2 separate regions of the Homo sapiens genome follow, and region 2 is linked to region 1. Evidence: promoter capture Hi-C in human tissues and cell types (Jung and others, 2019). All regions are on one chromosome and are shown on one strand. The core of a region is centred on a gene start or on the middle of the fragment in contact, and the rest is flanking DNA. Distances in the headings are between cores, read along the strand shown. Region 1 holds the start of NBEA (neurobeachin). Region 2 has its middle 110 kb from the start of LINC00457.

The links. Contacts are between HindIII fragments. The study calls those that stand out against the background at their distance.
Region 2: a contact is called between a fragment that was not itself captured here and the fragment with the promoter of NBEA in region 1, in 1 of the 25 tissues and cell types used here (dorsolateral prefrontal cortex).

Annotation. Positions count from the first base shown.
Region 1 is chr13:34,939,352-34,945,643 of GRCh38, forward strand. It overlaps NBEA (neurobeachin), which reads left to right and starts at 2,919. Exons shown (of 59, transcript NM_001385012.1): 1 at 2,919-3,763. The coding sequence starts at 3,470. LOC124903231 (a long non-coding RNA gene) reads right to left here and starts at 2,839. Exons shown (of 2, transcript XR_007063908.1): 1 at 2,789-2,839; 2 at 1,970-2,351. RefSeq lists an enhancer at 2,501-2,610 and silencers at 2,781-2,850, 3,291-3,410, 4,470-4,559. The HindIII fragment of the contact is 6,257 bases long and covers 1-5,246 here.
Region 2 is chr13:34,751,842-34,758,133 of GRCh38, forward strand. No RefSeq gene overlaps it. Among named protein-coding and RNA genes, the nearest start is that of LINC00457, 110 kb to the left of the region's middle. The HindIII fragment of the contact is 8,365 bases long and covers 1-6,292 here.

The DNA.
Region 1 (6,292 bases), core at 1,669-4,168:
AAAAAAAAAAAACCCAAAAATAATGACACAAAATAACTGTGGGTATTTTCCGGCAGCCAATGAAGGGAAACATTATTGATTGCCACTTACTACTACATTAAGTACGTTAAATGTATTAGCTCCTTTAATCCTATAAAGTAGTATTATCATCCTTACTTTGGGTTGAGTAAACTGAAGCTTTGAAGCTAAAGTCATTTTCCCAACATCACACATATAAGTGGTGGTGGAACTAGAATCTAAATCCAGCTTCCATTGAATCTGGGGCATGACTTCTCAACCTCTCTGCAATATTGCTTCCTGAAACTCAGATTCACAGGTTTCTTATCTTTGAATGATTGTCCTTAGGAAGTATGGGTATGCAAAAATGCATACAAAATTAATATTCACCACATAAAATATATTTTTTAATCTGGAGATTTAAAAATATACATATTGGGTATCTTCTATTATTATGTAGCTTTTCTTTCAAAATATTGTTAATGTAAATGTAAAGTTATTTGCACATTTTCCGGGAAAAGGTTTTGTAGGCCAAAAAGAAATAGACCTGTTGACTTTTCTGAACTTTATGCTTTTGGGATGGTATGGAAGACATATAACTGTGCAATTATGCAGACTTGTATGTGGTTATAATTGGTATTACATGTGTTTATAGGTCATGCAACACACATGCCTGTATACTAAGGACACAAAGACACATTGACTATATGCTAGCTGCTCAGCTGAAATTATTTTATGGAATTCTTACTTCCCTATGAAACACATATTATCATTCCTACTTAAGGAACCAGGAGACTGAAACTCAAATAGCTTGAGTAGACTGCAAAGGTAGTAAGTTGTAACTATGACTCAAAGAATCATGCACTTTCCACAGTATCATAGCGCCTGCGAGGAGCTGATTGTCTACTGGAGAAAGATTTTTAATTGGTAAGCTCTTTTAAATATCTCTGAAATTGAATTAAGTAGGCAAAAGAAGTGGAGTTTTCCTACTTAGAAATGGTGATATTATCTTTACCCACTCACTATCTTCACTAAGAAAAATGAGCAGAAAAATACAACCAACTGCATATACATACTACTTAAGAAAAAATACAAGAAAAATCAAAATGGAAATGTTAAAAATGATGTTAAGCTATTCATTCAGAAAGGAAATAGAAAGTTCAGGTTGTCACTGTCTCTCAAAGTACTCATGCAAGAAGTCTAAAAATAGCAAAAGGTAGAACCTGCTGCCATATAGATATATGCACAGTGGGTAAAAAAACTTAGTGTGACAACCTTTCAGTCTAGATTTATGTATTTTACAAAGATATCATTTTAAATTTGCAAATGAAACAGTACTCTTAAAAGCAGATGATACTCACTTGGGACAGACAAAAATGTAGTAGAAGGATATAAACGTTACAGGATTTTTCAATTATATAGTATATCTCAAGTCATACTATTATGACTTGTATGTTTTGTAAATTTCCCGTACAGTTTCAAGCATTCTAGCATTTTATAATTCAATTGCCATTTAATTTAAATGGACATGCTAGTTACCACTGCTTTCAGAAGTGTTTGCTTAACTACTTTAACAATTCAATCACTTTGGTGCAAGTTTAAACAAACAGACATGCAACCAAGAATTCATCCTAAGTACTGGTTTTGAGGAACTTTTTTATAACCTGTGGTACTTAGAATTTTACCGTGTTCCCATATCCTGGGAGTTAACTTGACTGGCAGGTCCAATTAAATATGAATAATAACAAAACTGATTATGGTGGATTTGTATATTGACCTTTTTCATTTGAGAGGACAATTAAAACGATCTGAATATACCTCAAGATACCTAATATTTCTGGTGACTTGCAATAATCTTTATTGAAAAGGGAAGACCTCATGAAATATTAAAGAAAATTATATCATTCCTTTCAAGGAACAGTCATGCCTATTTAGTTTTAATTCAATACTAACAGCAAGATTACTGTGTACATTTTAATTTTTAAAAATTAAAGGTTTATTTTTTGTCTCGTATCTGTGCAGACATAGATATGTACTTTTCTCACAGACAAGGCTGGCAGTGAGAATCACCCATGTTTTTAGATAATTTCGAAAGTCCTCTGAATTGTACGTGCCTGTGAAAAAAGGAAACATTAATAATTGGCATCATACCTGAGGATTGTCAGGATTTTGAAAGTGTGGGATTTGTCGTTCCCACCAAACTACCCCACAGTGTCACACACTGCAGTCTTTTTAGGCTGGGAGGCGAGTTCAAGAGCTGTTTGTTGTTCCGAGCTTGATCCAGAGAGGATCACTGTTTGACAAGTTCTATTTTAAGTCGTGCCTGAGTGTGCAGGTGTCAGCCTCTTTCATGGCTGTAGAAAAAGCACCATTACACTCCGTCTGTATTCTTCCCCCGACAATGCAGGATCGCCCCCCCGCCCCCCCGCGCGTTTGTTTCTGCTTTGCCAGCCACTTTTTCTTTGGGAAATTCTAGGGAGGGCAGGCGGACAGGACTGCGAGGAAGGGCGAGGAGGGGCAGAAAGAGGTCGTCTGCCACTCCCCTACCTTACAAGGCACGTGGCACTGGCAGTAGCAGCAGCTGGATGCAACAACTGAGATGAGGAACCTCCTCCCAGCAAGAGGATATTGAGAGAAGGAGGAGGTGGCAGCGAAGGCAAGACATGCACACTGTGTCCTTCCCCAAAGGGAGAATCCGCCCTCAAGGGAAAAACCACAAGGAAGCCACTACCCGCCCCGCCTCTGCCAGCTTGCCCCAGTGTCTGGCAGCAGTCCCCATGCACCTGCTCACCTGTCTATCCGTTCGGGGTGGTTGGGGGAGGGACGAGGGGTGTCGGGGTGGGTGGGTGGGAAGAGAAGGAGGGCAGGGCAAAAGAGGGGGTGCACCGAGGGCTCCGCCCCCCCGGAGGCTGTGCGCAGGCGCAGTGGCTGCTACCGCAGGCAGGGGGCGGCAACATGGCGGAGTGAGCGGCGGCGTCGGGGCTTCACAACAACAGTGGTGGCCGTAGCAGCGGCGGCAGCAGCGTCAATAGCATCGGCCACAGCCTGAGCTTCAGCACCGGCCAGCGTCGTGGCCAGCTGCTCGCGTCCTCGGGCTTCTCGGAGCGGCTGCAGCATCTCCGCGGGGGGCGGGCCGGGCCGGACAGACCGGGAGAGGGAGAGAGCAGAGGCAGCGGCGGCGGCAGCGGCAGCGGCAGCGGCACACCTGCTGGGCGGGCACAGCCGCTTGCCCGGCAGCGGTTAGCGGTACCGCCACCGCCGAGAATAAGCCTGCGGATCCCCCGCCGCCTCCGCGGGGGAGAGCGCCGGAGCGGGCCGGGCTGAGGCGCAGGCGGGGAGCGGGCCCGGCGCCGCGGCGCTGGTGGATGCTGGGGCTCCGAGGCGACGGCCGGGGGGCGGGGGCCGAGGCAGGTATAACGGTACCGGCGGCGGCAGCGCCGCTGCTCTTCCCTTCTCCTCAGGAGGGGGGCCAATGGCTAGCGAGAAGCCGGGCCCGGGCCCGGGGCTCGAGCCTCAGCCCGTGGGGCTCATTGCCGTCGGGGCCGCTGGCGGAGGCGGCGGGGGCAGCGGTGGTGGCGGCACCGGGGGCAGCGGGATGGGGGAGCTAAGGGGGGCGTCCGGCTCCGGCTCGGTGATGCTCCCCGCGGGGATGATTAACCCTTCGGTGCCGATCCGCAACATCCGGATGAAATTCGCAGTGTTGATTGGACTCATACAGGTCGGAGAGGTCAGCAACAGGGACATCGTGGAGACGGTGCTCAACCTGGTAAGGAAAAGGCGTGCTCTCAATCTGCTTCCCCAGTCCCCACATACACCGTCCCCAGCGCCTTTCCCTCCCACCCTTCACCCCCAGGGTCACACGCGCCGCGCGTCCCTGGGAGCGCAGAGCGTTCAGCCGGTATTGCCCAGCGGGTGACCTGCCTGCGCGCTGCTAGAGCCACGCCACCTCCCTCCTCTCCTCTTTCTGGTCCTCTCCTGCCACCTGAGCGCAGTGCCCAACTTAACACCGCTTCTTCTCACTTTTTAGGACCGCGAGTAACCCAGTACCCGCGGTGAAGGTTTTGGGTCGACTTTAGAGTTTAGTTAGGAGGTGAGGAGGCCTCCTGTTCTCTGGGGTTCTTTTTCTCACACTTAATTGTCCTTGGTGTCGCTCTCCGAGGATGACAGCCTTGCCCCTGGAGCCTAAATTCCCCCGTGCTGCTGAAATGTGAGAAGCGCATTAGCTTCCAACTTGAGCAGCTGGGGTGTGATGTTTTCGAAGGAGACAGAAAATGATGCAGTTTTGCATCTGTCTTTAAATATTCCAAGGCCATGATGGAGAGTGTTGTGTCTGTATCCATCCCCCTCCATCTCAGAAGCAGCCGTCCCTTCTTTGTAATATTGCCCTGAATATACTGATCTCTTAGTCATTTTTTGTGCACACAAGGTGTGTGAGGACACCAAATCACACAGGTTGATTTCTGTGGTTACTTTCAGTAGTGTGGCATGTGGGTAAAGACTAAAGGAAAGGTTTTAAACGCAGCCCTAGGTTTTGGTTCCTTTCATGGTAAGAAAGAGTTACTGCAGAAGTGTGTATGACTTAATGTTTTGCGCTATCTACAGAGAGGCTCAGAAGCGTTTAAGATGTCAGGGAAAGAAATGGAAAGAAGGAGAGGAGAATCATACATTGAGGATAATTAACAGTAGTTCATATTTAGTGCTTTGTAAATGGAGGTTTTGTTTTGTTTTGTTTTGTTTTTAAATGCAGCCAAGCTTTTTAAACAGTTTTCTCTGCAATAGATCTAGTCTTTGACATACTGTAAGGTTGGGCTTTGGGAGGCAAGACATAAATCGAGAGCAATCAGTTGAGTATTGTATTTGGTGTGGGGTCACAGGAATATAACAATATGCTTACAGGGGTACTTTGTAACACCCATGCAGTCATTTTTCAGCTAAGCAATTATTTTTACTTACTCTATTGGAAAACTGAGAGAAAGCTGCAGCTACATCAGTGGTGTCCTGAGACATGCATTAGATAATGTCTACGGTTTATGAACCTCGTAAATGCACAGAAAAGTTGAAGCTGTTTTTTTCCTTTTGCTAGTGTGTCAGGTCAAAGGAGATTATCTGTCTTTGTTATATTCATTGCTGTTTAAAACAAAACACCTCTTTTTACTTTTTTGTACCTTTCAAATAAATCATCATGAAAAGTCAGTGTAAGTTTGAGGGAATGTCACTAAGTTGATATAACCAAGTTCTTTTCAGAACACTACTAGAAATACAGTTTTCTTGAGTTTTAATTTTAACTAGCTGCAAATAAGAGGTCAGTACTTGCCATTTCTTTTTAAAAGAAGATAAATCTCAAACTGTTAGTATGTTAGCAGGTAACTGTATTTCTGTAATTTAAAGGAACACATTTTTAGTTGCAGTTTTGATCTAACCAATATCATTTTTAAGTTAGATTATATTAGGCTATTTTAGTAAGTATTCCTATGCTTACTTAATACATTTTAACCTGGTAAGAGGCAGTAGAGCTTTCACAACCTGGAAACTGATTTGAATGTATAACCAGTTTGGACTCTGCAGCAGTAGCAATGTGTGCTGAATCAGTTCTTAACAGATGGGGTTTTTTAGATATACGGTAGACTAAGAAAGGAAGTGAAATGTTTCTCTTGAGATAAAAAAGAAATTTAACTCTTCAGAGCAATGAAAATCTGACATGAAGTTTCAGTATGCAGACGTTATTTTAGAGAACTTTACCATTAAGCTTAGAGTCACTAGAAATAAAGTAATACTGAGATAGTATATCCCCAAATCTACCTAAGATTTTGTAACTGCAATGATATTTGGAATTTAAAGAGTTAGGTTTAAAATTTCTTTGTATGTATTTAAAGAATGCAATAGATTTTTAAATAGAAACTTTTGGAGAAAAGAATAAATGACAAAAGGAGCTGTTTATTACTAAGTTGTTAATTATATTAATTGTGGAGTATAAATTAGTCATTTGAAGTGTAATTTTCTTGAACTGTAGATTTAGGGCTTTATTGTCCAATACACTCATGAAAATGTCATATGAAAATTTAAGTGGATTCTCAAAAATATGTGGAAGTCATGGGCATTTAAAAAACTGATTATCAAACTTAATTCTATTTATTTAGTAAGTAAACCAATAAAATTCATATAGGACACTCAGTGACTCGTTAGAGTTTGGAAACCTTTAATATTAAATCTAAAATGATTTTTTAAAATTTTCAGTTTTAGTTTAACACATTAAATAAAAATGTAAGGTGAAATAGTGAAATACCTATTACTGTGC
Region 2 (6,292 bases), core at 2,512-5,011, 190 kb before region 1:
CGCAATGTTGTTCTGTTACATTGTCAGGAATCCTTGGATACAGCACAAATCTGTGCTATTTCAAAGCTATTTCAAAAGGCCTAATAATTCCTTATATTTATCAAGTACTCTAACAGCCAAGACATGAAAATATTCTAATTTTCTTTGCTCAGTGTTAGAGTTTAGTTTAATTCATGATGCTCAAAGTCAGTCCTTCTGCAGAATTTGAGTCAACTGAAAAGATCTGCATGCCCAAAATATACCTCTTTTGTCCACCTGAAGCCCTATTATTGGAGTCCACATAGATTCGCACAATATTTCCCGAGGAACTAAAATTTTAAATTCTATTATCAATAGTTAACTAATACTAGTGAAAACTGCTTAGCTAAATGAAGATACTTGAGGAAATATGACCAGAGCAGGTAAAATAGGCAAGAGATATTCAGAGATAGAGATTAAGGGAGAGAGAAAGAGAGTTTATTTCGGCATTTATTGAAAACATACTCTGCACATGAAACTGGGCATTCTCTGTGCAGTATATTTTTTAATCTTCACAATAAATTATTACTGTTCCCATACCACACAATAGGTCGCACAGCCTGAATCTAGCTATGCTGATGAGAGAACAGGAGTGATGCGTGGGTGTGGAAAGTCTAGAGAAGGCTCACTGCCTGAGAGGATCTGGTGACAGCCAGGACATAGGATGCTAGACGTCAAAGGAAAAAGCTCCAAAGACAAATTCCACCAAAGGGGTGACCCAAAGTGACACAACAGAACCCTAAAATTGCCTCTATTTCATGATCATTTTTAAAACACTTGAAAAACAGGGAGGACAATGATTCATCGAGAGGAAACTACAAGCCCTCTTCAATTCTGAGATACTTCAAAAACAGCAGTAAAGTGTTAAGAGTTTATTGCCGCCGAGAGCTGTGGCTCACACCTCTAATCTCAGCACTTTGGGAGGCCGAGACAGGCGGATTACTTGAGGCCAGGAGATAAGAGACCAGCCTTGCCAACATAGTGAAACCCCATCTCTACTAAAAATATAAAAAATAGCCAAGCTTGGCGGCATGCACCTGGAAGCCCAGCTACTCTGGAGGCTGAGGCAGGAGAATTGCTTGAACGCAGGAGGTGGAGGTTGCAGTAAGCCGAGATCACGCTAGTGCCTCCAGCCTGGGCGACAGAGTGAGACTCCATCTCAATAAATAAATAAATAAATAAATAAATAAATAAACGTTTATTGCAAGAAGTAAGTGCGATAAGCTTGTGAATGTGGTGGGTGGGTGTGCATAGCGTGATGTGTGTGTGAACACACGAGAGTGCAGTACACATGTGAATGATGTGTATGTGTAGATATGTGTGTATATGGGGGAAGGTGATGAAGCACATTTAACACATTATTGCTTTGTGATCCTCTAAATAAATTTTCACACACCTGGGAAAATAAGCAACACTGAGAGGTGAAGCCAACTGGGCTTCTGGGTCCAGTGGGAATTGGAGAACTTTTCTGTCTAGCTAAAGGATTGTAAACACACCAATCAGTGCTCTGTAAAAATGCACCAATCAGCACTCTGTAAAAATGGACCAATTGGCACTCTGTAAAATGGACCAATCAGCGCTCTGTAAAATGGACCAATCAGCAGGAGGTGCACAGGGCCAAATAAGGGAATAAAAGCTGGCCACCCCAGCCAGCAGCAGCAACCCGCTCAGGGGCAGTTCCACGTTGTGGAAGCTTTGTTCTTTGGCTCTTCACAATAAATGTTGCTGCTGCTCAGTCTTAGGATCCGCTGTATCTTTATGACTGTAACACTCACTGGGAAGGTCTGCGGCTTCACTCTGGAAGTCACCGAGACCACGAACCCACCAGAAGGAAGAAGCCACTCCGGACGCGCCACCTTTAAGAGCTGTTAACACTCACTGCGAAGGTCTGCGGTTTCCCTGCTGAAGTCAGGTAAGACCACGAACCCACCGGAAGGAAGAAACTCCGGACACATCCGAACATCTGAAGGAACAAACTCTGGACACACCATCTTTAAGAACTGTAACACTCACCGCAGGGGTCCGCGGTTTCATTATTGAAGTCAGCCAGACCAAAAACCCATAGGAAGGAACCAATTCCGGACACAACACCACGTGAACTATCCCCCTATCTGACAAAATGCCCTGGAGAAAATAATTGTAGCTGTTATAACTGTACTCTTTAAATGCAAAACGGTACCAAAAAATTCCTCATAAATCTAAATACTCCCTAGAAGAAAATTTCTCCCACTCTTCAAGAGGTCCATTTAGCACCTTTTCATCTGTTTTCTGATCCCCAATATTCCTTGTAACCCACCTGTTATAGTAACTGTTAACTGATGACATTACCTCATACTTCACTGAAAAGCTAGACACAATCATATAGGAATTCCCGTATCTTTCTAGCATCATCTCCACCTGTGTTAGAAAACATATGCTCTGCTTTTCTTCAGGTTTCAATGGAAGAAATGTTTGTCTTCTCAGCATAGGCTACCATAGTGTGCTCTGGATCGGATCCTCTCTATGCTTCTCAAGGTTATTTCTGACTCTCTTTGGAATTATTAGTGTCTTTCTCTCTCGTTGCCATGAGCATACAAATTTGCTGTAGGATCTCCCTTTTTTAACGAGTGTTTCCATGATCCTGCAATCCTCCACAAAGGCTGCTCCGAATCCTCTGCTCCCTATCATAGCAAAACTGATTAAAATAGCTCTCTAATATTCACTTCCCCTATGGCTTCGCTTCCTGACATCTCTTTGATCCCCTTCAGTAGGGTTTCTCTCTCTCACTCCAACCCAACGGAACTGCCCATAACCAAGCACCAGTGACTGCCTTACTACCAAAGACAATCTTTAATTCGCCGACCTTATTGCGTGCTCTCAACAACAGTTTAAAGAGTGAACAGTCTCTCCTTATTGAAATGTTTTTATTTCTTGGTTCCCATGAAACCCACCTTTTAGCTTTCCTACTACTTCCCTGTCCATTCTTCCTCAGTTCCTTTACTGGCCACTCCTCTTCTGCAAGACTCCCATCTGAGGTCTCAGGAGTCAGTCTTTATCATTTTTCTATCTTTGATCTATGCTTTCCCTCTTGGTGATCTCCCATAGCTATAGATGACACCTAATTGCATCCAATTTTTTACATTTGGGCCCAACCTCCTTGATGAGATTCATACTCTAATTAATCTAACGGACTACTTAAAATCTATACTTAGATGTAAACTTAACATTTACACCTCCAACTTAACATATTCAAAACAGAATGTGTGTGCTTTGCCTTTTTGTTATTGGTGGGGTGTGTGTCTGCGTGTGTGTGTGTGTTGGCCTCCAAAACCTGTTTTTTCCTCCCAGTGGTCTTCTATATGTTAGTAAATAGTGCCATAATCCAATAAACTTACGACCCAATTTAGAGTACAAACCTAGGAATCATATCTACCTTCAAAATATACCCTGATTCCACCCATTTCTCAGTTTCTATTGCAAATACCTGGTGTCAGCCACTGTGTGATCTCCTGTCTGAACTATCTCTTGCTTGCAGACCTGCTCCATCTCCATCCTGATATCTAGTCTTCACACCGAATCCAAAATAATGTGTTTAAAACATTCATCACATCAATTGTCTAGTTAAAAAACCCCCAATGACTTCTGAGTGCATGTAGAATAACATCCAGATTCCTTATTGTGTCCCTTAAGGTGTGGGATTTCTCTTAATATCTTTGTCTATTCTCTGACTTCCTCTCCCAACTCTCCTCTTTTGCTCACTGTGCTCCAACCACAATGGCCTTTGTTATACTCTCTAAATAAGACAGCCCTATTCTGGTCTCCGGAGTTTGCACTTGCAGTGGCAAGTCACTCTACCTGGGTCACTCTCCCCTCTGCTCCTCATCTAACTGATCCTAATCACTAGGTCTCCTCTCAGATGCCAACTCTGCAGAGATACTTCTGCAGACCAACACATTTAAAATTGATCCATATCCCCCACTTCATTCACTATCACACCATCATGTTTTATTTTCTTCATATAACCTGTAATAAAGAAAAATTCTTATTTGTGTGTTTAATCTTCACCCTAGAATATAAGTTCCATGACAACATGTATGTCTTGTTCATTTACTGTATTCCAGGCGCTTAAATCAGGGTCAAGAAGTAGTTGGTGTTCAGTAAATATTTGTTGAATATAGAGATTGATTAATTATAGTATGTTGTGAATCCTCAATCAGGTAGAAGTGTCATAAGCTAACGATCTGAGCTGATGCACGAATATAGTCTTTTCTTGATAGTTTTAGTCTTGTGCTAAATCACAATAAATACCCTCTAGGCTTAATAGGAGAATGTCACCCAAACACTTCAGGCATGTGGAGAATGTTTTAATGACAGTAAGAACACGCGAGGGGAATTGTTCAAGCTCTATGCTTCATTTCTTTCTTCAACATGGCAGCATAATTTAATTATACGGTGCCATAAACACCCTTATGCATCCAAAGTCAACAATATGTTTACCATAGCCAAGTTGTACAGTTATGAAAAGTTAATTTTTAATCATTTGGTGAACTAATCTTTACTATATCTTACTAGATACAATTACATTGAGATTTGCTGTGTGTTGAAAGGAGATAGATGTCAACTGTCAAATTGCCAGAGTGGCTGTAGTAATATCATACCAAGTAGATGTAAAACAAAAAAAATGTTTCTAGAGTTAAAACGGGACATTTCAAAATGGCAAGAGGGTCAATTCATCAGGAAGATAACAAAACATGTATACACCTAATAAATACACAAAGCAAAAATGGACAGAATTAAAGAAGTATGAAATTCAACGATAATAGTTGGAGTCTTCAATCCCCTCACTTTAATAATGAATAGAACAAGGGAGAAGATCAACAAGGAAATAGAGGACTTCAACAACACCATAAACCAACTAGGCCCAACAGACATCTATAAAACAATCCACCCAGCAACAACAGATTACACATTCTTCACAAGTACACATGAAACATTCTCCAAGACTGATTATACACGAGGCATTGAACATATCTCAGTAAATTCACAAGGATTAGAGTTATGCCAAATATGCTCTCTGACCACAATGAAATTAAATTATCAATTAATATCAGGCATTTGAGGCATTTATAAATATGTGGAAATTCACAACAAAATTCTAAATAACCCATGGTAGGAGAAGAAATCACAAAGAAAATTCAAACAATACTTTGATATAAATAAAAACAAAAACACAGTATAACAAAAGTTATGGGATGCTGAGAAAGCAGTGGTCAGAGGAAAATTTATAGCTGTAAACACTTTTTTCTTAAAAAAAAAACAAAAAAAGAAGATGATCTCAAATCTAATTTTCCACGTTAACAAAGAAAAAGAAGAGGAAACTATACCCAAAACATGTAATATACTTTCTGTCTGTATAGATTTGCCTAGTCTATAGATATAATATAAATGGAACCATAATAAACATGGTCTTTTGTGACCAGCTCCCTTCATGGAGTAGACTGTTGTCAAGATTTATCTATGCTGTAGCATGTATTGATATTTCATTCCAATTGAGAAATAATATTCCTCTGTAAGAATGTACCTCATATTATTTAGCCATTTATCAGTTGACAGACATTTGGGTTGTTTCCCCTCTTTTGACTATTATGATTAACCCTGCTTCGAACATTCACATGCAAGTTTTTGTGTGAACAAGTCCTTTCTCCTGGATACATATTAATATCTAGGAGTACAATGCAGCATCATATAGCAATACTGTGGTTAACAATTTGAGAAACTGCCAACTGTATTCCCAAGAGACTGCACTGTTTTACATTTCTATCAACAAAGAATAATTCAGTTTCACCACATCTTCACTAACACTTGCTATTGTATTTTTTTAATGAAGCAGTATCTCATTGTGGCTTTGATTTGCGTTTATCTAATGACTAATGAACTTAAATATCTCTTTTATATGCTTATTGGCCATTTGTATGTTGTCTTTGGAGAAATGTATTCAAACTTTTTCCCAGCTGGGCATGGTGGCTCATACCTGTAATCCCAGCCCTTTGGGAGGCCGAGGCAGGCAGATCACTTGAGGTCAGGAGTTTGAGACCAGCCTGGCCAACATGGTGAAACACTGTTTCTACTAAAAATACACAAATTAGCTGGACATGGTGGCATGCGCCTATAGTCCCAACTATACAAGAGGCTGAGGCAGGAGAATTGCTTGAGCCTGGGAGGCGGATGTTGCAGTGAGCTGAGATCGCACCACTGTACTTTAGCCTGGGTGACAGAGCAAGACTTTGTCTCAAAA